Linked DNA regions of Homo sapiens: regions 1, 3, 4, 5, 6 and 7 are each linked to region 2. Evidence: promoter capture Hi-C in human tissues and cell types (Jung and others, 2019). All regions are on one chromosome and are shown on one strand. The core of a region is centred on a gene start or on the middle of the fragment in contact, and the rest is flanking DNA. Distances in the headings are between cores, read along the strand shown. Region 1 overlaps BTBD9 (BTB domain containing 9). Region 2 holds the start of ZFAND3 (zinc finger AN1-type containing 3). Region 3 overlaps BTBD9 (BTB domain containing 9). Region 4 overlaps CCDC167 (coiled-coil domain containing 167). Region 5 overlaps ZFAND3 (zinc finger AN1-type containing 3). Region 6 overlaps BTBD9 (BTB domain containing 9). Region 7 overlaps BTBD9 (BTB domain containing 9).

Evidence for each region. The method cuts DNA at HindIII sites, captures the fragments that hold promoters and counts their contacts. A contact is called where the count stands out against the background at its distance.
Region 1: a fragment that was not itself captured here is called in contact with the fragment with the promoter of ZFAND3 in region 2 in 2 of the 25 tissues and cell types used here (bladder and hippocampus).
Region 3: a fragment that was not itself captured here is called in contact with the fragment with the promoter of ZFAND3 in region 2 in 6 of the 25 tissues and cell types used here (IMR-90 fibroblasts, dorsolateral prefrontal cortex, hippocampus and 3 more).
Region 4: a contact is called between a fragment that was not itself captured here and the fragment with the promoter of ZFAND3 in region 2, in 1 of the 25 tissues and cell types used here (aorta).
Region 5: a fragment that was not itself captured here is called in contact with the fragment with the promoter of ZFAND3 in region 2 in 3 of the 25 tissues and cell types used here (dorsolateral prefrontal cortex, hippocampus and mesenchymal stem cells).
Region 6: a contact is called between a fragment that was not itself captured here and the fragment with the promoter of ZFAND3 in region 2, in 1 of the 25 tissues and cell types used here (dorsolateral prefrontal cortex).
Region 7: a contact is called between a fragment that was not itself captured here and the fragment with the promoter of ZFAND3 in region 2, in 2 of the 25 tissues and cell types used here (IMR-90 fibroblasts and mesendoderm cells).

Annotation. Positions count from the first base shown.
Region 1 is chr6:38,305,851-38,309,209 of GRCh38, forward strand. The region is part of intron 7 of BTBD9 (BTB domain containing 9); the gene reads right to left. Among named protein-coding and RNA genes, the nearest start is that of BTBD9-AS1, 170 kb to the right of the region's middle. The HindIII fragment of the contact is 4,773 bases long and covers 1-3,359 here.
Region 2 is chr6:37,818,374-37,821,704 of GRCh38, forward strand. It overlaps ZFAND3 (zinc finger AN1-type containing 3), which reads left to right and starts at 1,354. Exons shown (of 6, transcript NM_021943.3): 1 at 1,354-1,643. The coding sequence starts at 1,573. ZFAND3-DT (ZFAND3 divergent transcript) reads right to left here and starts at 1,014. Exons shown (of 2, transcript XR_007059569.1): 1 at 205-1,014; 2 at 1-117. RefSeq lists enhancers at 561-950, 920-1,722 and silencers at 1,001-1,380, 1,421-1,650, 1,811-1,980. The HindIII fragment of the contact is 25,591 bases long and covers 1-3,331 here.
Region 3 is chr6:38,278,400-38,282,049 of GRCh38, forward strand. All of the region lies in intron 8 of BTBD9 (BTB domain containing 9), which reads right to left. Among named protein-coding and RNA genes, the nearest start is that of BTBD9-AS1, 200 kb to the right of the region's middle. The HindIII fragment of the contact is 8,508 bases long and covers 1-3,650 here.
Region 4 is chr6:37,494,007-37,497,436 of GRCh38, forward strand. All of the region lies in intron 1 of CCDC167 (coiled-coil domain containing 167), which reads right to left. Among named protein-coding and RNA genes, the nearest start is that of CCDC167, 4.2 kb to the right of the region's middle. The HindIII fragment of the contact is 5,400 bases long and covers 1-3,430 here.
Region 5 is chr6:38,152,545-38,156,091 of GRCh38, forward strand. It overlaps ZFAND3 (zinc finger AN1-type containing 3), which reads left to right. Exons shown (of 6, transcript NM_021943.3): 6 at 1-2,080. Among named protein-coding and RNA genes, the nearest start is that of BTBD9-AS1, 330 kb to the right of the region's middle. RefSeq lists an enhancer at 493-1,113. The HindIII fragment of the contact is 3,909 bases long and covers 130-3,547 here.
Region 6 is chr6:38,224,245-38,227,584 of GRCh38, forward strand. All of the region lies in intron 9 of BTBD9 (BTB domain containing 9), which reads right to left. Among named protein-coding and RNA genes, the nearest start is that of BTBD9-AS1, 260 kb to the right of the region's middle. The HindIII fragment of the contact is 3,539 bases long and covers 1-3,318 here.
Region 7 is chr6:38,199,825-38,203,363 of GRCh38, forward strand. All of the region lies in intron 9 of BTBD9 (BTB domain containing 9), which reads right to left. Among named protein-coding and RNA genes, the nearest start is that of BTBD9-AS1, 280 kb to the right of the region's middle. The HindIII fragment of the contact is 7,341 bases long and covers 1-3,539 here.

The sequences.
Region 1 (3,359 bases), core at 433-2,932, 490 kb after region 2:
AGTTGTGACAGAAGATGTTTGTATCAAATGTCACCACTGGTTTACTAATATACATAGGCCAAATCCTCCATTTCAGCAGGGAATAATTGTGTTATGAATTTTTCTTTCTAGAAACACAAACCTCAGCCTACCTAGTTGGACTGCCTTAAACAATTACTCAATGGTTTGAATAAGTTCTGTGGTCTTTCTTACTGGGAAAAATTAGAGAGTGATTCTATATCTGAATGCAGCACACAGAAGGTTCCACACTGTTTTTCTTCCCAGAGGAACTGGGCCACTCCCCATTTTGAATGTTCATTATCGTCTTTCATATGCGTCTGATAAATTTATTAAAAACACCATCTGGATGGGACTGAGCTTTCTGCTCTATTTCTAGTCTTCCAGTTTCCTCCCTTGTCCCACTGGAATTTCTGTCCCAATTTGTGTCACTTTGTTTACAAAACCATGCTGCCAAAACCCAGTGTCTTGTATCTGTCTCTTTCTGGTGTTCCTTTGCCATCCCTCACCTACATCCCTATTACAACAGCCTGTGCTAGGAGCAAAAGGCAAAGGTGAACCGCCTGGACAGAAATTACTTTTCCCCCTCTGTGCACATAGCAATTCTGCTCAGACAAATTTAATCTGCTGCTTCTGAATGCAAAAGTTGCATGTTAACAAAGTGTATACATTCTGCAAAGTGTATGAATATTGGAATGACTCAGACTGCAGGGAACTGCAGAAAAAGTGATCTGAAAACAATTTTACTGCTCTCTGTTCTTACAAAGCACCAGGGGTGGCCAACGACTTGCCTCTAAATTTAATTCAGGAGTAATAAATTTTTTAAAAGGCAGTATTACTTCAGTAGGACATGACCTGAGGGCCACCTGTACCAGCTATATTTAAAGATAAGACTGACATGTTATTTAACTGTCTCCAGAGATCACTTTTGAGAGGTGGAGGAAAAAGACCCACTTGAAGCAGATTTTGTAAAAGGAAATAACACTTAGCAGTTACAGAGGACTGTCATCTTCAAACACTGTGCTCTGCTGGGCTTTATTCAATGTTTCCCTGGCTGTTTTCATTACAAAATTGTTTTCTAACAGCACAGTGGTTCATGCAGCAAGCAAATGGTTAATAATCTCTGAGTAGATCATTCTCTATTGCCAAGATTTTCATAGAGATACAAAGATTTCCTGTTTAAGAAGATAACTATTAGCTTAAGGTCCTACCTAGAGGTCTTCCCACAGACCTATCACTTCTTTTTTTAAAGGAGGAAACACACCAGTGGCCTAGCCCCAGGCCTACACAGGAATTTGTTGCTGATCAGGCAAGCTTCTAACCCAACTGTAATCCAACCTTCTGTCAAATTATTCAAGAGGAAAAAATATCCACAGCTGTTCTGTCTTAACAGCTGTAAAAGAACAATAGCTAATTAGAGAACAAGCCCATCTTTCTTGGAAACTATCAAAAAGCTGTAAAAATGTATTCTACAACACAGGCACTTAGTTATATTAATGCCTAGTTTTATCTATCAGGTTAAGAAAATCACTTTTCAATCATATATTACATCACCAAAGAAAAACCATGGGTTATATATAGCATACAATTTTTAAGCTTTTCCTTTCCCAAAGTTTCCCCCACCTGCTTCTGTGAGAAGGCTGCTTCTGAACACACTTCCAGAGAATTCAGTCCTGACCACCTCTCCATACCTGTGGGTGAAGCCCATGGGTGGAAAACAGGCTATGCCTTTTGAAAACTGGAGCCCCTTTCCCCTAATCGATTTTTCCTTCTTTCTTTGCTATTTTGTCTGTTTAATTAGCATTAATCCAGTATTCTGATCTTTCCTGTTCTAGCTCCAATTTTTACATTAGCAAGGTTGCCCAAATCACATCTTATCTTAAGATTATAAGGGCTCCAAAAATCATGCTGAGTCCATTTTAGCCAGTGATAAGAAGAGGTTAAAACTTCCCTAAACTTCAGATGTGTTCCCCTCCACCTTTTGCCCCTCAAACACATGCAAATTTTATGAAGCTATAGCTCTAAACACTTCAGAGGAAGTGGCCTGCTTTCTAGAAGATAAGAAATCAGAGATGGTTATCCCCAGGGACAGAAGTGAGGTGATGTGGCAACAGTAGATCTCAAACATACAAGTTCACCAGGATCAGTGAATTTTCTCTCTCTCCTCACACTGGGGCCTTTGAATGAAAGCACTTTCCAAAAATAACTGTATGGTTTACTCTCTTATGTGCAGTTTGACAATCCTGTAGTTTAAATGCTAGAGGTTTTAGCTGAGAAAATCAATTCAAAGGCCTTAAAGAATCAAGCATCAGATGTTAGCAGTAATAACCACTGCAGTATATCAAAGAGGGATTCACTCTGAAGGTGAGGCCTTGAAATTGAGGACAGAGGCATTTCCAGGTATAAAGAAAAAAGATAAACCAACCATCCAATTCTGTGTTTGAACTAACAGGCAATATCTCTATTTTTTTCTTTCCTCCGGACATAACTTGTCAGGGAAGAGACTTTACATCTGCACTGTAAACATAACGTGATTTATACAAACACAGGAGAAGGAATAACCAACATACAAATAGTCACTTAAACTGGTTTTGCAAGTTTTCAAAATGATTTCTCAAAAAATTAAGAAGTTTTAATATAAAGGGCATCTTTTTCTGTGAGTAGTATCATAAGTTTCACATGAATTTATTTTTCCTTCTTCCCTAAAAGATGTTCAAATTGTTGCAGGATTGCTACTTAAAATCAACAGAGTTTTGTTTTGTTTCTGTTTTTTTGAAGCAGGGTCTCACTCTGTTGCCCAGGCGGGAGTGCAGTGGCATGATCACGGCTCACTGCAGCCTCGACCTCTCACAGGATGAGGTGATCCTCCCACCTCAGCCTCTGGAGTAGCTGGGACTACAGGTATGTGCCACCAAGCCTGGCTTATTTATTTATTTATTTATTTTTTGTATTTTTTGTAGAGATGGGATTTTGCTATATTGCCCAGGCTGGTCTCAAACTCCTGAGCTCAAGCATTTCTCTTGCCTCAGCCCCCCAAAGTGCTGGGATTACAGGCCTGAGCCACTGCGCCTGGGCCAACAGAGTTATTTTTGTACCACACTACGAGTTTAAAGGGTCGTCAGGTCACAACAGGTTTGTGACTCAAGTCAGAGATGTCACCACAGCTTGGGGAATATTTCTCATTCACATTGAACAGAGAACAAAAGACATGCAAAAGGTTGTTTAAAAAGCCCACAAAAAGGCCAGGTGCAGTGGCTCATGCCTGTAATCCCAGCACTTTGGGAGGCTGAAGCAGGTGGATCACCTGAGGTCAGGAGTTCGAGACCAGCCTGGCCAACATGGTGAAACCCTGTCTCTACTAA
Region 2 (3,331 bases), core at 104-2,603:
GCAGCTATTCCTAAGAGCCAGGAAGTCTTCCTCAGCGATGGGTCTCCAAAAGGTCTGGAGGATGTTGCCTCCGTGTTGAATTAGTCATCAATAATCGATTTCTCTGTTCATGACTAACTGGAGATCAGAATGAGCTCAGGATCAAGGACTAGGATCGTTAAAGGACTCATTTTTTTAGTGTCTCAAACTTCTTTGGTCACTTACCAATTTCCATTACTGATTCAGCTACAGCTCCCCTTTCCCCTCCAAAAACCAAACGTGTCAGCTGTAGGAAGAAGTGCGGCTCTCCTAGCCTGGGCATAGGGACTCGCCTGGGCATAGATAATGTACTTGTGGCTCTGTGGTTGGGAGTGGAGACAAGGAACTCCCCAACACCGGTGGGGGAGAAGAGACAAGGAAGTTGCCCCAGACAAGGGGCTGGGGGAGGGGCATTTCCCAAAAGTTCCTGTCAAGAGACCAGTATACCGGGTGGAACTATAAGAGTTGTTTGGGTGTGGCGGGACCAGGAAGAGAGAGAGAGATGCCCAGGGAGTTGGCAAATTGGGGAGAATGGCTCCCCGGAATCGCCCAGGAGCCAGAGCGGCAGCTCCAGGGACCTTGACTCCGACGCCCCCGGGAAGCCAGAGCTCCACTTCCGCGTTTGGCATTGCTCCCCCAGGCCCCTCCTCGCACTCGGTTACGGGTTCTACGGGCGCATGCGCCGCCACTCTGGGACTGGCCCAATTTACCCTACACAACTAATCTGCTCCTCCCCCTCCCGCTTGGAGCGCACCATTCGCGTTTAGGGGGAGGCACCGCGCCCCGGAGTACTCAGAAACCTGCTCCCCTTCTTCAGACAGGGGGAAGATAAGTTTGCTTCAGATTCTAAAAGTTCTAAGAATACGAAGGCCTCAGCCGCCCGTCGCCGGGCGACAGCCCGAGGCTCTCGTTTTCTCCCACAGCCCCGCACTCCGCCTTTGAGGCGCGGAACGAAGTGGCACGCCCGGATCCCAGCTGATCAGCGGCTGGGCTTTGGCGTTGGCTCCCCCGGGCGAGACCATTGTGACTCCTCGGGAGGGGCGCACGCCGGGGAGGGGGCGGAGCGGCCATTGTCCGGTCAGCGCAGCCTCCGGGGGAGGGGACGGTGTTACGGAGACAGCAGGGCCCGGGGCTTCAGAGCGGCCGCTGCGACTCCGGAGCCGGCGGGGGGCTCCGGTCCTTCCCTGCGCCACCGCACAGGACATCTCTCTGGCTGGGGAGCGGCGGTGAGACCCGCCGAGGGCGTCTGTGTCCCTCCTCCCCCGCGGTCCTCGGTGCGTCCGCACGCCCCTCCTCCTCGGCTCCCTCCTTCTTCTCTCCGCGCCTCTCCGCCCCCTCCCCGTCTCCGCAGGCCGAGTGGTGCGGCCCGCCTCCAGCTGACCGGCCTGGAATCCCGGCTCCGAGCCCCGGACTCGCGCCCGCCCGCGCGCCCGCTCCTTCCCCCTCCCCCCGCCCCGAGCCCCCCGACGCCGCCGCCACCGCCTCCTCAGAGCGGGGCCCGGGCCCAGCCGCCGCCACCGCTGCCGCCGCCGAGCTCCGCCGCCGCCGAGCACCATGGGAGACGCTGGGAGCGAGCGCAGCAAAGCGCCCAGCCTGCCGCCTCGCTGTCCCTGCGGCTTCTGGGGGTAAGTGCCCGGCCGGGTGGGGGCGGGGGGCGGGGGCCGGGGGCGCAGACGCCAGGGCAGCCTGGGCAGGCCTCGGGGCCCGGGAGGCCGGAACCTTGGAGGCTGGGCCCAGCCCGGGCCTACGGGGAGGGGGTGGGGGTCGCGTTCCGGGGAGGGGTGCCGGGTGGGGAGCTGGGGGTGGGCAGAGAAGGCCCTGCCGGGGGTGCGTTGCTACCCTTTGGGACTCGCCGGCCTGAAGCTCGGGCCCACGGGGGCCTCCTGGGCCACGGGTGAGGGGGGCAGGGCGGCGGGGAGGGATGAGGGGGCGGCGTTGACCGCTCCGGGAGGAGCAGGGGTGCCCCTTCCGTGGGCATGTGGAAGCCAGCCCTTCCTCCCTCCCGGGGCGTGAGTTGGTGCCCAGGCACTAGGAGGGTATTTCCTCTGACTTCTTCACCTCCCCTCCTCCCCGTCCTCCGGAGACTTGCATCATCACTTCCTAGATTATATCCCAGTGCCCCATTTGCTTTTAGGAAGCTATTCACACGTCACCCGTTTGTAAAAACCGAGTCCAGAACCAGGCTGGGGTAAAGTTATAAGATTGTTGAGGTCTCACCTTCATGTAAAACACGTTTCAGGAGATATGTAAAATTTCCTTGTCAAAAAGGAAGAAAAAAACCACACAAAACCTGAAGTCAGCCTGGATTGGGGAATATGAGATCCAGTTTCCTCAGTTGGCTCTCAAATTCTCCTCTTTCTCAATTTAAGTAAAAATGATAAAAATGTTGACAGTGGGTAGCATATATTGTTTGGCCATCATGTGTTAAGGCGAAAAAAATGTGAGGTGGGAAATCAGCTCCTCTTCCTCCCCCCATTACTGTTTAAATTCTCCTGGTAACACTTTAAGCTTCATGGATTGCCACCTAACAGGTGCCTCCATCATACCACATGACTGTAGTTCTGCAGTAAGAAAGCTGGAGACTTTGAAGGCTGGCTTTTGTGATTTGAGTCCCTTTTCTCTTTTATCGTTTTGTTTTAGTTTTATTTTTTGAGAGATTCCGTATATTTGGAGACATAGAGGCAGGAAGGAAGATTGTTTCTGGTGAGGACATCTTGGGAAGAAGTATGGAAGTAGTTTTCCCTTTGCTATCTCCCATATTGTAGGAATGGTTAACAGAAATTAAGAGTAATTTTGGGAGTGCAGAGAAAGATTAGAAAGTGGATCTTAATGTAGACTTCTGTGGAAGTTGTCGTATCTCAAGGTTATGACAAAGAAGTGGATTTTCATTTTCTCATTTTTCTGCCTTTCTCAAAAATTTCCCTGTGGAAGGACATTAGTCAAAAATAAGTTGTGGCATATAAAAAGTCCTAAAAATGTGAAAATATTTCTAGTCTTCCCTTCATTTTGATTTGAAAATAATTGGTTTGCCTGTGAAGTGCTTTCATGGACTGTCTAATTCCCACAAGAATCTTGCGAGGTAGGAACCATTATCTCATTATTAGCTGGGGAAACTGAGGCTTTGGGTGGATAATTTGCCGCTTCACACAGGGAGTGTAGGGTGGAGCTGGTGAGCTCTTTAGAGTGCGTAGTACCATCATGTTTATGGTATCAGTCTGCTGCCCTGGAAAAATCTTGTGTCACAAGCCTCAGATTGTAACTCATTGTAAGACATATGTCCTAAAGAAAGTCGCTGCCAGTGGCAGCTAATGCT
Region 3 (3,650 bases), core at 845-3,344, 460 kb after region 2:
AACAAATGTAAAGTCTCAGTTGCAACATATAATGGCAGTTTCTATAATTTATGACCACAGAAATCAAGGGTGGATTGAACCATAAGATGTGATGGCTCCTTTCATTTTCTTTGTAAGGCTATAGGAGGTTCTGCAGGATCACGAAACAAATTAGAATCTTTGGAGCTGGAGTTTTACCATGGGTTGTGTTGTCCTACTCCTGATGGAGAGAAAGGGATGAAACTCAAACTATGCTTTGATTTCTTCATCTTGTAAATGAAAACAGTGAGAGCAGCTAAAGCTCCAGAACCACTGTAAGACATGGTGACCAAAAGAACCATTAGCCATTTCTAAAAATTAAACTGTACAGAAGGTCTAAACACTCTTGGCTGGTGTTTGGTTACAGTAAAAGAATAATGTGGCAAGGCAGGTAATATCATAACCATTGAGGGATATGGTTTCAGGCATAATAAGGTAAAAGGAAGAAAGAAGATCCTGACCATTAAGTCTTAAGGGCAGCAAGGAAAGAAAATCCAGGGAGAAGTAAAAGCATACTCTGCATTTATCTATGTAACCAATCCCCCTTGCACTGAATCTGATACATTGCTGAAAGAGGCAGTGCAGCAGGCAAATAATGATTCCTCAGCTAGAGCTAAGACCCTGAGTGTCCAGGAAAGTTGCTGAAAGGAGTCCTTGACGGGCACCAACCAGCCTGTCATCATAATCATCTTTCCTAGAAGAAGAATGCAGAAATGGAGGTAGACAGAGAGGAGAGGCAAGAAGAGGAGATGAAAGAGTTTTTCTTGGTCTCAGTGCTTCTGCTTGTTCTTAAGTAGATATACAAGCATGTTTTGGTCAAGTGCCTCTGTGGTTACCAATGTAAGGGGCTAAGCTTTTTAAAAAGAGAGATACACTGACATCAGGTGCTATCGAGATGTACCAAAAGTATCTGAACAAAGTGACAAAGTTGGGCTCCTGGGAAAAGAGTCTCTGATTTAAGGGTACTTGGGGAAAGAATAAGAAGATTTTCAAAGGTAGATCACTGCTTTGAATTAATTCAAGAATTAGCCTTAAATGACTGTGACCCTTCATCAGTTTTTTCAGAATAGCTTTATTCTGAAAAATACTCAAAAGCTATATTAAAGCAATTTGATGTATTAAATGTGTACAAATTTCAATTTGCTTGAAGTCCTATGCTTCTGTTAGCCCTCATGAGAATAGCTGCATTTCTGTGACCCCGTGTGGCCTATCCTGGGGCAGCAGCATATAAAACATCTGCCACAGAAGGAGGAGGCTGATGCTTTCCACTCATTTCGTTTTCCAAGGTGAACAATTCTGGTTTTTAAAATGATTGCTATAATCACTACCGGTGAAGTATTTGTTTTAAAGAGTTCTTAACAATTCTAGATAATTACTAAACACACACGTGTGCATGAAAAAATGGGTCAGATGGGGCCGAAATCCTCTGTAAAAATGTCTTATTGATGGGTTAAAATCTTGGAAAGCTAAAAGGATTCTTTTCATATATCCAGCTATATCTTATGATGACTACTTGCCAAGTTCTCCAATCACTCAACAGAGGTAAATGGTTGACATGTGAGGTAAATCACACACATGAACACACAAACATATTTTTTTTTTTGGCATTTAACTTTTCCTGCTTTTCCAAAGAACATCTGAATTCTAGTGCTCCTCCTGTATTTTTAACACACAACTTAGTTGCCATAGCAATACTGTCTGGTCTTGAAATACCTCTAGGATGAAACTGGCTGAGGCATATTTACCATGCCCCCAAACTATCCTGCTATCTGTTTCCAGGATCCAGGATTTCTGGCCCTCTATGCATTCACACAGTTCAGACTTCAGCACCTACTGGGAACCATAGATAAAATTATTTGCTGTATGATTTTTCTGGGAACCAGAGCTCTGAGGTCTGAGGGTGATAAAAGAAGACTTTAGAGTGATGCAGATAGGCTCAGAGAGAAACAACACTTAGTAATAAATCATGGATCAGTGAGACAAGGAAGAATTCCTTGGTTCCGGGCTGTGACAGACGACATTCAGCATGACTGATATGAAGCAAATTTTGTAAAATATCTTTCCAATTTTGACTAGAATTATAAGCAATCTTAATCCAAGCCAGAAGAGTCATATATTTAGATGTTTGCTGTATTCTTCAGGCTATAAAAAGGAAATTTCTAGCTCTCTAGGTTGCAAAGAAGGCTGTCTTAATGTAAATAGATGTACTGCTTGCCTGTGCAGCACTCAGACAGAATGAAATGGAAGCGGCATGGAACAAGTGAGGCAAGCATTTTTACCTGTGCTAATGTCATCACCTGTGCTAATGTCAGAGCCTAACTCCAGAGCTCAATCTCAGTCATTTGCTGGAGATGTTGGATCTTTAGCAGTTTCCTCACATACACTTAGATAAGACACACTGAGCAAATATGATGTCCAATTTAGTTGCTAGATAGAACTCCCTTTAGTTGCACTAGCATCTATGTTGTCAGTTTAGTCAATGAGTGTTTATTGAGTACTCACAGCACAGAGAAGCATACTATGCATTTGGAAACTGCTGCAAAGACTCAAGCTCATCACAACATTAAAAAATCACTATCTTCAATTTGAGATTATCTGTGGTCCTACTAGAGATTGAGTGCAGCACAGATGTAGAAAATACTCAAATAATTACAAAACATTATTTGAGTCATTAGCCCCAATTCCTCTACCCACCCTTATTGACTAAGCCTTCATTTGGCTATTAAGTAGGAAAAAAATGGCATTTTTTACAGTTCCTCTCCTTTTTCTTTTCTGTGCTTATCCTTCTGGAGGGAAGTGCATGAGCAACAGTTAGGCAGGGTGGTAAGCAGCAGGAAGAAGAAAAAATAGCAGTCTAAAGGAGGTCACGGTAATTTACAAACTGAATAGATAATCTAGAGTTGGTTGTAGCCACACAATAGTGAAAGGACAATTGAACTCGGCATGGGCTTGACAGTTCACAGAGAAAGAAAAATATACCAGATGAATAAGGACCACAGTGGCATATGTAATTCTTTTATTATTATTATTTTTTTAGGATCAACTTGCTATTACTTCTTTTTATCTACTTAATAACTACAAGACATAAACTGATTTGTGGTTCAGACAGTCTGTGCCAGATTAACTTTTTAAAGTGGTAGAATTGTTTTTTCCTTCTGCAAAACAAAAAGAGCTTCACCCCACAGACTAAAGAGATTATGAATACCCATCAAGAAACTATTTTGGGCTAGACATCTTTTGTCCTAACATATTGCATTTATATAATATTTTCCAACTGAAGAACTCAAAATGTTTTTGTGTCATTAACTTCTTAATACTCACAACACCCACAGAGACAATGGGTTTAGTTAGCTGCATCTATCTAAACAGTCTTATCTTTTGACACCCTATTTACTATTATTTGTTATTTAAAATATTTTGGGTATTTCACTTACTCTATTGCACATATCAATTGCAAAAACATCGTTCAAACCAATGTAAAAATTGTTAATTTAACTGACTATCTTATAATTAGGGTTTCAACAAAGTGCTGTCATTTATTAGCTGGAAAAGACTGGATGATAGGTATACTTAATGCATAGCATATTTGAGTTCTCATACTAGCCTGAAAACACTAAAAAGGATATCACAAT
Region 4 (3,430 bases), core at 275-2,774, 320 kb before region 2:
GGCCATTCTCTCCCCTCAGCCTACCACTTCTCATGGTCAGTGATCCTGCCTTTTTTTTTTTTTTTTTTTTTTTTTTGAGACGAAGTTTCCCTCTTGTTGCCCAGGCTAGAGTGCGATGGCACCATCTCGGCTCACCGCAACCTCCACCTCCCAGGTTCAAGCGATTCTCCTGCCTCAGCCTCCCGAGTAGCTGGGATTACAGGCATGTACCCCCATGCCTGGCTAATTTTGTATTTTTAGTAGATGGGGTTTCTCCACGTTGGTCAGGCTGGTCTCGAACTCGTGACCTCAGGTGATCCGCCCGCCTGGGCCTCCCAAAGTGTTGGGATTACAGGCGTGAGCCACCGCACCCAGCCGATCCTGCCCTCTTTTTCTGGTAAGGATTCCAGTGAATTTTCAATGACTCCCATTAGCATTTATTCCTTACAGCAGATACTGTCAACTGGCCAACACAACACCGACTCCCCACCCCTGCTCCTTTGCCCACCTCTACTCCAGAAGGTGGAAAAGCTCAGCAGATGCTCTCCCAACCTCACTGCAGCTAGGCTTGCTCATGACCCAGTTCTGGCCAATGAGACGTTCCAGAAGTCAGCTAGGAGACTCCTGGGGAAGCTTATGCTTTGTTGATAAAAGGGACAGTGTTGTTCCTTCCTCCTCCTTCCTGAGTTAAAGTTGAATATTAGACTGGAGCTGTGGCAGCTATATTGTGACCATGAGGAAACAGTGAAGAGAATGCAGAAATACCAACTCTGACATAGCTAAGCTTTTGAACCAATGCCAGTAGCCACCTACCTACAAATTTTTTTTTTTTTTTTGAGACGGGGTCTCTGTTGCCCAGACTGGAGTGCAGTGGCACGATCTTGGCTCACTGCAACCTCCACCTCCTGGGTTCAAGCAATTCTCCTGCCTCAGCCTCCCGAGTAGCTGGGATTACAGGCGTGTACCACCACTCCTGGCTAATTTTTGTATTTTTAGTAGAGATGGTGTTTCACCATGTTGGTCAGGCTGGTCTCGAACTCCTGACCTCAAATGATGCACCTGCCTCAGCCTCCCAAAATACTGGGATTACAGGCGTGAGCCACTGCACCTGGCCCCTACAAATTTCTATAAGGGGAAAAGTCTACTCCCATTTGCTTAAATCATTGAGGTCAGTTTTCTATAACTTGTAGCCAAAAGCTTTCCAAACTGATAAACTTTCTGTACTAGGGGTCAGATCCAACCAAGTTATCCACTTTAGGATACCGGCTAAGACACCACACATCTGTTAACTCAAGACCAACTGGTCACTGAAACATCTAAAGACACCAGTTTGAACAGTCCAGCTACAAAAGAAAAGTGCAATGACAAAGGAACAGCTCATTACCATCAGAGATCCGAAAACACAAACAGGTTTTACATCAGTCAAAATTCTCCTATCAGTTTAGACTGAAATTCAACCTTTCCTTCCTCCCACACAACATTAAAATCAGTACTGGGTGGGTGATTTCTCATTTGAACTATAATTTTCTTTTCTTATTAAGAATGAAATCTCAGAAGCTAAAACTCACAGTTTTTTCCAACTCTGAGATCTCATATGGTGGCAAATGAATTGGATAAAAAGACCTCAAAAGGAACCACTTTGAGGGGGAGGCTAGAGGGTGCCCTGGTTGTCCTAAGAGGTGGCTGCTTATACAGCTGGCCCAAGCCAGCCCTAAGGGTGAGTGCTGCCTGCTTGGTAATTGCTTCATTACAAGTGGAGACTGTTTGCAGGTGCTGAGATCACTCACTTGTGGGGGTTTTATTGCACTCGTCAGATTAACAAACATTTTTGATTAAATCACCACTTCATTGGCTCTGAGCACACAACTTTTAATAAGAGGACAATATCTACTGCTACTGAGCATCAGTGCACATTCAATACTCAGACCCGCTGGGGGCAACTGAGAAGCAAGGTGGGGAGACAGCCAGCCAGATGTCAGGCTTTTTCCAAGGCACACGGTTACAGATGTCAAATCTTCGAATATCCAAGCAAAAAGTAAACTTAGGGACCAAGATAGCAAATATAAACATCTACCGTGGTATGGAGAGGGTAAAACAATGGAATCTGCCCCAGTATAAGGCACTTGGAGAATACATGCCCCACCAAGTTTAAAAACGTAAAAATCCGGCCGAGTGTGGTGGCTCACGCCTGTAATCCCAGCACTTTGGGAGGCCGAGGCGGGCGGATCACTTGAGGTCAGGAGTTCAAGACCAGCTGGCCAACATGGTGAAACCCCGTCTCTACTAAAAATACAAAACTTAGCTGGGCATGGTGGTGCACGCCTGTAGTCTCAGCTTCTCGGGAGGCTAAGGCACGAGAATTGCTTGAACCCGGGAGGCTGGAGGCTGCAGTGAGCTGAGATCATGCCGCTGCACTACAGCCTGGGCAACAGAGCAAGACCCTGTCTAAAAATAAAATAAAATAAAATAAAAACTTAAAAGTCTGTCAGCCAAACAGAAGACATCTGTGATCTGTATTTGGGCCATAGTCAAGGAGTTTGTAACCCCTGGTGAAATTCAAGTCCTTCATGTTATAGATGAGTGAACGAATGCCCAAGAACGAGTTTGACTTAGCCATGGTGGAAGGATGCAAAAGAAATACAAAGGCTGGAGCTACCATGTATTGATTACCAATCCGGTGCCAGGCACGTGCTGGGCACTTAACGCAATGTCTCATTTAATCCTCACAACCACACTGTGAGGTGAGGTGCCATCTGTAGTGAGACTACAGGCTGTCTGTGAAAACACACTGGTCTCTTCCTCCATAGTAAGCAAACAGTAGCTGGCTATGTGGCCTCCTGACTGGTGAACGCATTTCCCTGATCCCTTGCAGTCAGGTGGGGTTTTAGTTCTTGCCAATGGAAAGTGGACAGTTTGGGCCCAGGACAGTGGGTGTGCTTCCTCCATTCTCCTCTTTCTCTGCCGGTGGACACATCAGTGGGGTATGCCCCGGTTCCACTGATAAGGTGACAAGATCTCAAGAGATGGTGAAGCCACAGAGGAAGGGAATCTGGCAGAACCACCATAGACCTGGTACTCTAGACCAGGAGTTGGCAACTAAGCCCTGTGGCCAAATGGTCTAAGGACTGTTCTTGCAGATAAAGCTTTAGTGGAACACTGACACACCCACTTATTTACATATTCCTTCATTTACATACTCCTACCTTAGCCTGAATACAGTTGGTTCTTGTTGTTCCTGGTAGCTATGTCCTATAAAGTTGCCTCTAATATTGAATTAGCAAATACCAAACCAGGTGAGGTTCCTGCAAGCCTATGGACACAACATTTTTGCAACCTTGTTTCATGTGTGATTCTGTTTAAAGTGACCTTATTCAATATATATTGTTGATTCATTAACACTGGACTCACAACCAACAGCACTATACGTGCTGTTACATCATGAGTTATATCA
Region 5 (3,547 bases), core at 834-3,333, 330 kb after region 2:
GGGTTGATGGTGGTTGAAATTGATTTCTGGCTGGTTACTAAGGTGCCTGCTAGCCATTGTATAAAATTAAAACATGAAGAATATTTTTTTTTTGAGCATGGCTAGTGGATTTAAAACAACACATACCTGTCACTGCTGGAGTCAAACTTATAAAAAGCCTTAAGTGGAAAGTGTTCCAGACGGAGACTCTGAGTTAATAGAGGAGTAGAAGCTGGTGTTAAAGTTCCCACGACGCACATGGCTTTGCCAGAAACTCTGTTTAATGATCGGCCTTTCACCTCTTCACTTATCCTTAGTCCCAGTAGCCAGGATACCTGATGGCCACGTGTGCCTTGGCCACGGGAGGCTGCTGAGATTGGCCACGTGGCTGGGCTGGGTGGTGGCCTCACTCTCCCACAGAGCTGGAAATGGGGGGTGGGGGACAGATTCTTACGGAAATTTTTTTACCTGACTTGCTATGAAAAAACTCATCACACAAGAAGAGAAACAGTAACCTCACTTTGAAAATTAGCTCCACTCAAGACTAGTCCACGAACGAGACCCGCCTTTTCTACACAGGATCCAAGGTCACGAGAAGCAGCCAGAGTGCCCCGCCTCCGCCGGCTCTGGTCTGCCATTCGCCAGTGCAGGGATCTGGCACGGACCAGATGTGGCGAATGGCAGCACAGCGCGGTGGCTGGGTCTGCACACTGGCCTCTGCAGCCAGATTTCTATATTGGGAGTTTTTTAAAAAGACATTTCATAGCCAACAAGAATCAGTAGAAGTGCTGGGAGCAGCAGCTGGGGAAGCTGCCGCCCACGGGCTCTGCCCCTTCCAGCTGGAGCCGCCCGTGCCTCCAGGGGCCAAGAGGATGATGTCGTGGCCTCCATTCTCGTTTCTATGCAGCCCCATAGTCCAAGGACACCCAGTCCACATCTACCATATAGCAAGTTTAGTAAGGGAAGGCAGCATACGTCCCAGGGACAGTGGGTTTGGATCTGTCTAGAACAGCGGTTTGTGGCTGTGGCCCAGCTCCGAGAGTGATATTTGCTCTGGTAGGTGAGGGCCTGAGGGTACATTTCTCCACCTGTGCCCCCTCATGTTCACAGAGGATTTCAGCAGCTGCAACTGCGCACGCCAGGTGGGGAAGGGTGGGGGTGGGCCTGGTTGCCCCATGTTAGGAAATCACTACCAGTCAGGTGGGGCTGGGGCTGGGTGGACAGGATCAGGATTCCCTTGAAAGCCCAGGCAGGGTGAGCAGTCCCAGTGGTCCTAGTGCCGCATCAGATCCAGGTGGGTGAGGGCAGGAGGCCCCTGCGGAGGCAGCGTGGATCTGCCCACACATAGGCTACTGGAATAGTTTAACCCAGCAACTTTCCTTTTTATAAAACAACAAATGGTTCAACTCTGTCTGCAAATTAACAGCTGAACACCTGCAACTGCAAATGTTTTTTGATCCGACGTACTGAAATAGGAAGTCATGCTCTTCCCACCCTCCACCCACCAGAGTGGAACCCGCTGCAAAATCCCCAGCCTTAATTCTTGCTTCAGGACCCAGACCGGTGTCTTGCTCTAGGGCAACCCAGGGCAGAGGGGCCAGGTCTGCCCAGCGTTTACCACTGCTGTCAAGCCACAGCCCTTGGCCACCATACGGGCCATCCTCAGTGAGGCAGCCCCCCATAGGCTTCCGCCAAGCTCTGGTCCCGAAGAGGCTGTGCGAGCCCTTCCCGGCCCTCCCCAGGGCCCCCCGCCCCCTCCTCTGCCTGCTGCGTGGAGGCAGCCATGGGAAGGAGCCCAGGGGAGCTGGCCTGGGGGAGCGAAGCCCATGTTCGCTTCCTGACTTAGAGCTGGGGGGGGTGGGGGGTGGGGCTTGTTCCCCTGCAGTATCTGTTCTGTGAAGTTTGTTAAATGTAAGGAAAGCTTAAATTCTTGTATCTTTAAAAGAGAAAATCTTATTTAACCCTTTTGTGTTCTAGATTTACTTACACACATAGCCTAGAGCTCAGTTTTAGTTTTAACATTGTGAAAATATTAAAAGAATCTTGTAACTTTATTCTTTTTTCTCCTGCTGAAAAAAAAAATTAAACCAATCGTATGAAAGTTTGGTTTTCTTGTTTCACCCCTTCTCCTAAGTGCCCCCTGGGTTGCTGGGAAAACTGACCCATCTCCCTGGCCAGGGCTGGAAAGAGATGGGGGCCTGTGTGCAGAGACCGTCTGCAGTACTTGGAGGCACTCGTCCAGTTAGTGTCCAGGCTAAACAGCCGCTTCCTTGCTTTCTGTTGGGAGCCTCTGCCCTGGGAAGCTGCGGGACTGGCCTTGGGGTAAAGGTGGGTCTGCAGGGCCAAGCCTGTGCCAGCAGCCAGGAGGTTACACACTGGGGGGGATCAGAAAACGAGCCCCAGCCCTGAGGGCCCCAGGCGTGGGTGGGGTGGGTGCTGGGTCCTGAGGGAAGGCAGCATGCCCTAGACCCGAACCCCACCCTAGGAAGGGCCTCCAGGATGGATGACGAAGGCTCCCAAAGGCTGGCTTGGAGGAGGTGTGTGCTGTGGCACTCTTTGGTGTATAGGATGAACTTAACTACATTTTTAAATGTTCAAAAAACATTTGGCAGGGCAGGGGCGAGGCACAGGAGTGGGACCTGTCCCCACTTCTTTTAGGACAGAGATATTGACCGCATAGTTGTCATGAGCGTGATGAAAATCCTCAGAGGAAATCAGAGGCCCAGTGGCGATGAACAAGCACGGGGGCAAAGGGCAAGAGAGGGCCTTGGTGGCCTGGGTGTGAGGCGGGCCTGCAGGGAGCAGTGGGCTGTGCTCTGCCCACTGGTCCACAGGAACTGGGTCTGCGTCAGCTCCTTCCTGATTGCTTCACAGAGCAACAGTCCACAGCAACAACATAACTGTTGTTATGCCAACAACAGTCCACAGCAAGAAGAGGGGATGGTGGGAAGACAAGCAGAAACCTTCCTGCTGGGTGGCGTGAGAAACAGGAAACCATGGGTGGGAGTGGGCCGTGGTCTTCAAGGGAGCCATCAGCAGCACATTCAGGGAGCTGTGAGCAGCCCCTCTAGCCCCAAGAAGGGGGTCTCCAAGAGAGAGGGCCCCAGATGGGCACAACAGTAACACAGATACCCAAGAGAAGTCTGCAGGAGTCTCAAAACCTGATTTCCTCAGCAGCCATTCTCGCAACTACATGGGGGAAGGCTGCAGTGAGGGAGGAGTGATCGGAGAAAGACATGGAGACTTGGGACCTGGGGCGGGCTCTGGGGGAACTCAGCACACAGCTCGAGGCCTGCGAGGTGGCCCCATATCTTGTCAGCACTGGGTCCTGTCAGAGGGCTTGGAGAAGGTCTAAGAATCAGAGACAGATACAGACAATTAAGCAAGTAATAACAGTGTATTAATGCCTAAGCAGAAATACACAGGAAGAGGAGCTGCAGACCCTGTGTGACTCAGCTGTGAATAATATTTACGTACAAATAATGTAAACACAAATACTAGTGAATATTGCTCTGGTAAAAATATATGCTGGATCTCAGTAGGAGACTGGGAGAGGGAAAGAATGTGC
Region 6 (3,340 bases), core at 299-2,798, 410 kb after region 2:
ATTCAGTAATAAGATTTGAGTCTCATAGTCTGCACGACCTCTTTTTCTATGTTTTCATTCCTCTTGGATTTGTCTATTTTCCTGGCTCAGTTGGCAAGCGCCTGGCCTGAGCAAAATTCCTAATCTCAGATATGGCCATGAGCGTATTTCTGGATGAGGGCCATCTCATTATGATGAGAAAGGAAAGGACTGTCCAAATCCAATGCTACTGCTTCAGGGAAGAGGACCCTTGGGGTAAAACCAATGTTGGATGAAAAATACTTAAGAACCTCACACAAAGGCTTTTTAGAGATTACCATCCAAAATACACACAATGGAGAAGCTCTATCAACTGAAAGGTCTGAACAAGAGTAAGGAAACCACACATGAAGAGTAAAAAATACAAAAGAAAAAACTTGTGTAAGACCAAGATCTATAAGAGAGAGAATGATCCATTATTGAGTCAAAGATCAATATGTAGCTGGTTCAAGTACAAAGGTAACTTTTTTTCCACTTCTAATTTTCATAATTTACATATTTAATCAGAGCTATCCAAATATCACCCATTACAAACCAACGCTTAACGTGGAGCTTGTTTCAGAATATGTGTGTTAGGTAGTACTTACATTGTTTACAAGGCTTGGTCATTCAGAACAAAAATGTAATTTCAAGGTAATAAGTATGATGTTGCAGTTCTATAATCTAACTGGGTATATTCATAAATGTGAGTCAGAAAGTCACACTTAGTTTAAGGTAACTAACTTCTGATGGAATTCTTGCTGGTAGATGGTGAATGTGGGTCTTAATGAGCTCTCCTATGAAAGGGGCACTTACCATGGACAGGAAGATATGAAAAAGCATGCTGGCTCTGTGAGTGCCCCTCAAGGCAGCCTTTGCATTTGTACCAAAATTCAAAGGACGGAAATGTTCAGTCAGAAGTTCTCTTACCTACCTCACTCCAGCTAGGGAACCAAGGCCATCTATCTCTTTTCCCACAATGCCATGGACAAATGGAATAGAAACAAATCAGCAAAGGTAGCTGCCACATCTTGCCCAATGATGTGTCCTAGAGGCTCTGAGATTCACTTGAATGAAGTCACCAGCAGTGAAATTCACAGTTAATGGGAAGATGCAAAATGCTCAGGAGACATTAGAAAGCTAGCCCCATAGACCCTGAAGGTGAAGACCAAAAGCTTCCCCAGTGGTAAGATATAGGAGAGAAGGGGCATTCCCTGGCCCTAAACTTACTAATGTCCTCCTGTGGAACCATTCCTTTAGTAACTATTAATAAAAAACTGTTAATATGTGCCAGGCATTTTATAGGTGCTAAGAATGTAGATATGAACAAAGCAGACATGGTCTCCACTTTTAAGGAACTTAATGCCTAATGGAAAAACTTAAGTTATAAATAACTTAAAATTATAAATTGTGACAGGTGCTATGAAGGAATAACAGGGGAGGCCAACTCTAGCTTGGCTGGAAAGGGTCACTTAACCAGCCAGGCAAGGGCAGGGGTACGAGGGACTACCTATGAGAGGAAAAAGAAGCATCAGGGGCAACCCAGGACTTCAAGGTGCTTACAATCTAGTCAGAACGACCTAATGACATCTGATGTTTGTATAGAGTTTTACCACTTACAGATTACTTTCATTGCATCAATTTATTTAAGGCAGATATGACACACACATAGAGAAGACTAACAATACTGGTACTTGATGACTGAGCACGTTTCATTGGCAAGGCTTAACTATGAGGCCAAAGGCCAAAGGTGGATTAGCTTCTCTACTTTCCAGGGTTCCCAAATCCTAAGGCACACTAGTCTTTTTTGCTCCAAAGTACTTAGCTCTTCCTGTGCCTTGCTTATTTTCTTATAATAACACTTGCTCTCACCTGCCCTCTCTGTTTCTTTGCTCCATCCATAGGAATGTTAGTTAGGCTTGTTCAGGTTACTAGGATAGGTCACCTTAGGTTTCAAAGGGGGGTGGGAGTGTGAAACCACCTCTTTTGTGGAGAACTGATAAGATACTGATCCCCGCGCCTGCACAGTTCAAAGCATGGCAACATATGTATAAGCAACTGTCTGTGGCCACCCTTCTCAAGACAGAACAGGGAACCAGGCAGGACTCAGCAGCTCTTACAGTAACTGAACAGAGCACTACAGTGATGACAGAGTGGGGGCAGGGGTTCCTTGCTGCTGCTCCAACTCTGCAAAAGGAGTCAGGAAATGGGGCTTGGATGGCGTGCAGCAGCCAGCAAGATGGCAGAGGTTCACAGAGAATCTCTAGCTCTGTGACTGCAGATGAGACACAGGCTGAGATGAGTCTGGCTGTTCTGCCCCAACTGCCCCCAAAACAACACACACAACTGAAGAGTAGGCAAGGAGAAAGGTTAAGAATCTAGGGGTGATGGCAAGGTTTTTGACTCTGGAAAAACAAGTATTAAAAATGCTCAAACCTGAGATTTGGGCATAAGAACACTTAAATCTCAAGGTGCTTGCTCAGGGGTGAGGACAGGTGTGTACACACACAAACATGCACACACACACACGCACTCACAGAGTTACCTCCACTGACATAAGAGGCTTCTAAAGTCATTTGTGGTACCATGGGGATCCAATTAACTACAGTCTCTCACAAACATTAAAATCCTAGTTAGACATGAAAACCACTGCTGCGGCCTATCAAAGGCAAGCCTACAGCTGACAGAGCAGCCTTGAATAAAACAAAGATCCAAAGACAGCAGGTTTACTCTGGAAGCAATTGACTTTATAACCACAATTTGACCCAGCATTTTACAGTGGCGACTAGCAGAGGCTGGGGCAATGTGAGGGTTACACTTAACAAGTATGTCCTGGAGAGGCTTGCTCACCCACTGTGTGCCTCAAGTCCCCTTAGTGCGAAGTCACTAGAGAGAGAAACCAAATGCTATACTGAAAGGAGATGCAGAACACTGTTTAGAGGAAGGTCATAAATTTTCTCTGGAGTTTTCTGAGGATTCTGGGATTCTGATTTGCTTCCAAATGAGACCACTTTTAGGGTTTGTACTTTGAGGTCCTGGCTGTCGGCATTAGTGCTGCCACTTGGTTTTGTTTTAGGAGCACATATTTAGTAGGCGGTTACATTCTTCTATATGCTGGTTTTTAATTCCTTGGATCTCTAATCCAAAGATGCTTGAAGGCCTAAACAATGAACCTCTCAAAAATAGGAGAATAAAGAGGCACACAATGAGGTCTGGCAAAGTGCTACAGAGCCCCAGACAAACATGTCAGTTACTGTCCCTATCCCTTCCGCCTGATGAGGCTGGGAAGGAAGGTGATCAGAAAGTGGCTGGGACGGCAGGGCTGGCTGGCCACAGTGGCAGG
Region 7 (3,539 bases), core at 272-2,771, 380 kb after region 2:
AGAAGCTTCCAGCCAGCTTTCACAATGCCTAACATTTAAAGGGGAATGGGGGCAAGAAAAGCCTGGGCTGCTGCCCCTAAACTGTAGGCAGGGGTGACCATGGGCTACCATCCTCGAGGCTTGGGGTGGAGGCACAAACAAAGCTCTATTTTAGGACCTGCCTCTACAGACTGCACACTGTCCTGGATCCCAGTGAAGCCAGACCTGAGGTCAGGAGAAGCATGGCCTGCTGTCCTCAGGGCTTAGATGTGCACAGGCTATGCACTCAGGGCTGAGGGGCAACCAAGGTGCTGGCTACCACAGCAGGGGCTGAGGTATGAGCACCACGGGCATTTCCCACCTGCAGGCCTAGGCTACTGTCACTGAAGGTGGCACTGCCCTCTCCAGGGAAACAAATGAAAATGAAAACAAAATAGACCAAAACCTGTGGGACACTGCAAAAGCAGTACTCAGAGGGAAGTTTACAGATTTAAGCCCCTATATACAAAAGTAGAAAGGTTTCAAATCAACAATATAATAATGTACCTCAAGAAACTAGAAAAGGAGGAACAAATCAAACTCCTAAATTAGCAGGAGGAAAGAAACAATAAAGATTAGAGCAGAATTAAATGAAATAGAGACTACATAAAAATACAAAGGATCAATGAAATGGAAAATTGGTTCTTAGAAAAGATAAACAAAATTGATAAACTGCTAGCTAGACTAACCAAGAAGACAGAAGACCCAAATTAACAAAATTAGAAGTGAAAAAGGAAACATTACAACTGATGCCACCGAAATACAAAAGATCATCAAAGACTATTCTGAACAACTATATGCTAACAAACTAGAAAACCTAGAAGAAATGGATAAACTCCTGGAAACATGCAATCTATCAAGATTGAATCAGGAAGAAATAGAAAACGTGAACAGATCAATAATGAGTAGTGAAATGGAATCCATAACAAAAAGTCTCCCAACAAAGAAAAGCTCAGGACCTGATGGATTCACTGACAAATTCTACCAAACATATAAAGAGGAACTAATACCAATCCTCTTCAAACTATTCTAAAAAATTAGGTGGCACATGCCTGTAATACCAGCTACTTGGGAGGCTGAGGCAGGAGAACTGCTTGAGTCTGGGAGTTTGCGATTGCAGTGAGCATTGATTGTGCCATGACATGCCAGCCTGGGCAACAGAGCAAGACCCTGTCTATAAAAAAAATAAAGTAAAAATAAAAAAAAAATCCCAAAACCAAAGAGGAGGGAATACTCCTTAACTCATTCTGCAAGACCAGCATTACCCTGACACCAAAACCTGACAAGAACAAAACAACAAAAGAAAACTACAGGCCAATATCCTCAATGAACACAGACACAAAACTTCTCAAAAAAATACTAGCAAACCAAATTTAACAGAGCATCAAAAAGATAATACACCATGATCAAGTGGGATCTAACCCAGGGATGCAAGGATGGTTTAACAGACACAAATCAATAAACGTGATACATTAGATCAACAAAATCGAGGACAAAAACCATATGATCATTTCAATAGACACAGAAAAAGCATTTAATAGAATTCAACATCCCTTCATAATAAGAAGTCTCAACAAACTAGCCATATAAGGATATACCTCAAAATAATAAAAGCCATCTATGACAAACCCATAGCTAACATCGTACTGAATGGGGAAAAGTTGAAATTCTTTTCTGTAAGAACTGGAACAAGACATGGATGCCCACTCTCACCACTCGTATTCAACATAGTACTAGAAGTCATAGGCAGGGCAATCAAGCAAGAGAAAGAAATAAAAGGCATCCGAATTGGAAAAGAGGATGTCAAATTGTTCCTTTTTGCAGATGACATCTTATATTCAGAAAGACCAAAGGATTCCACCCAAAAACTCTTAAGGGTTGATAAGCAGATTCAGTAAAGCTGCAGGATACAAAACCATCATACAAAATTCAGTAGCATTTCTATACACCAATAATGAACTAGCTAAGAAAGAAGTCAAGAAGGCAATCCCATTTACAATAGCTGCCATGGAAAAAAATTCCTAGGAATAAATTTAACCAAGGAGGTGGAAAATCTCTACAACGAAAACCACAAAATACTGATGAAAGAAACTGAAGAGAATACAAACAAATGGAAACTCATCTTATGCTCATGGATTAGAATAATTAATACCATTAAAATGACTGTACTGCCCAAAACAATATACAGATTCAATACAATCTCCATCAAAAATACCAAAAATCCAAAAATGTCGTTTTTTTTGTTTTTTTTTTTTTTTTTTGAGATGGAATCTCGCTCTGTTGCCAGGCTGGAGTGCAGTGACACAATCTCAGCTCACTGCAACCTCCACCCCACAAGCTCAAGCGATTCTCCTGCCTCAGCCTCCCGAGTAGCTGGGACTATGAGTGTGCGGCACCACACCCAGCTAATTTTTTTGTATTTTTAGTAGAAATGGGGTTTCACCATGTTGGCCAGGATGGTCTCCATCTCTTGACCTAATGAACCACCTCGGCCTCCCAAAGTGCTGGGATTACACACGTGAGCCACTGCACCCAGCCCAAAAATGTCATTTTTTACAGAAACAGAAAAAAAAAATCCTAAAATTCATGTAGAACCAAAAAAGAGCCAGTATAGCTAAAGCAATCCTAAGAAAAAAGAACAAAGCTAGAGGCTTTGCAGTCACTACCTGACTTCAAAATATAGTACAAGGCTATAGTAATCAAAACAGATGGTATGAGTATAAAAACAGCCCAACAGAGTATACTGGAACACCCAGAAATAAATCCACATATCTACAGCCAACTGATACTCAACAAAGGAACCAAGAACTTACACCAGGGAAAGGATACCCTCTTCAATAAATGGTGCTGGGAAAATTGGATATCCATATGCAAACTGGACCCCTATCTCTCATCATATACAAAAATCAACTCAAGATTGATTAAGGACTTAAATGTAAGACCTGAAACTATAAAAATAATAGAAGAAAACATAGGGAAACCAGTTCAGGATATTGGTCTAGCCAAATGGGACTGTATTAAATTTAAAAATTTATGCACAGCAAAGTAAATAATCAATAGAGTGATAAGGTAATCTGTTGAATAGGAGAAAATACCCGCAAACTATTCATCTAACAAGGGACTAATATCCAGAATGTACAAATAAAAATTTCATTAAAAAATGGGCAAAGGACATGAATAGACACTTTTCAAAAGAAGACATACAAATAGCCAAAGGGTATATGAAAAAATGCTCAACATCACTAAGCATTGGGAAAATGTAAATCAAAACCACAATGAGATATCATCTTACCTCAGTTAGAATGCTATTATTAAAAAGACAAAAATAATAGATGTTGGTAAGAATGAAGAGAAAAAGGAACTCTTATACACTGTTGGTGGGAATGTAAATTAGTACAGAAACCATGGAAAACAGTATAGAGATTTCTCAATAAACTACTACTATTTTTCAAGCTGAGAAATAAATTTTTAAAAATCTAAAAGTACAACTATAGGAAATGGATAAATTTCTGGAAACATGC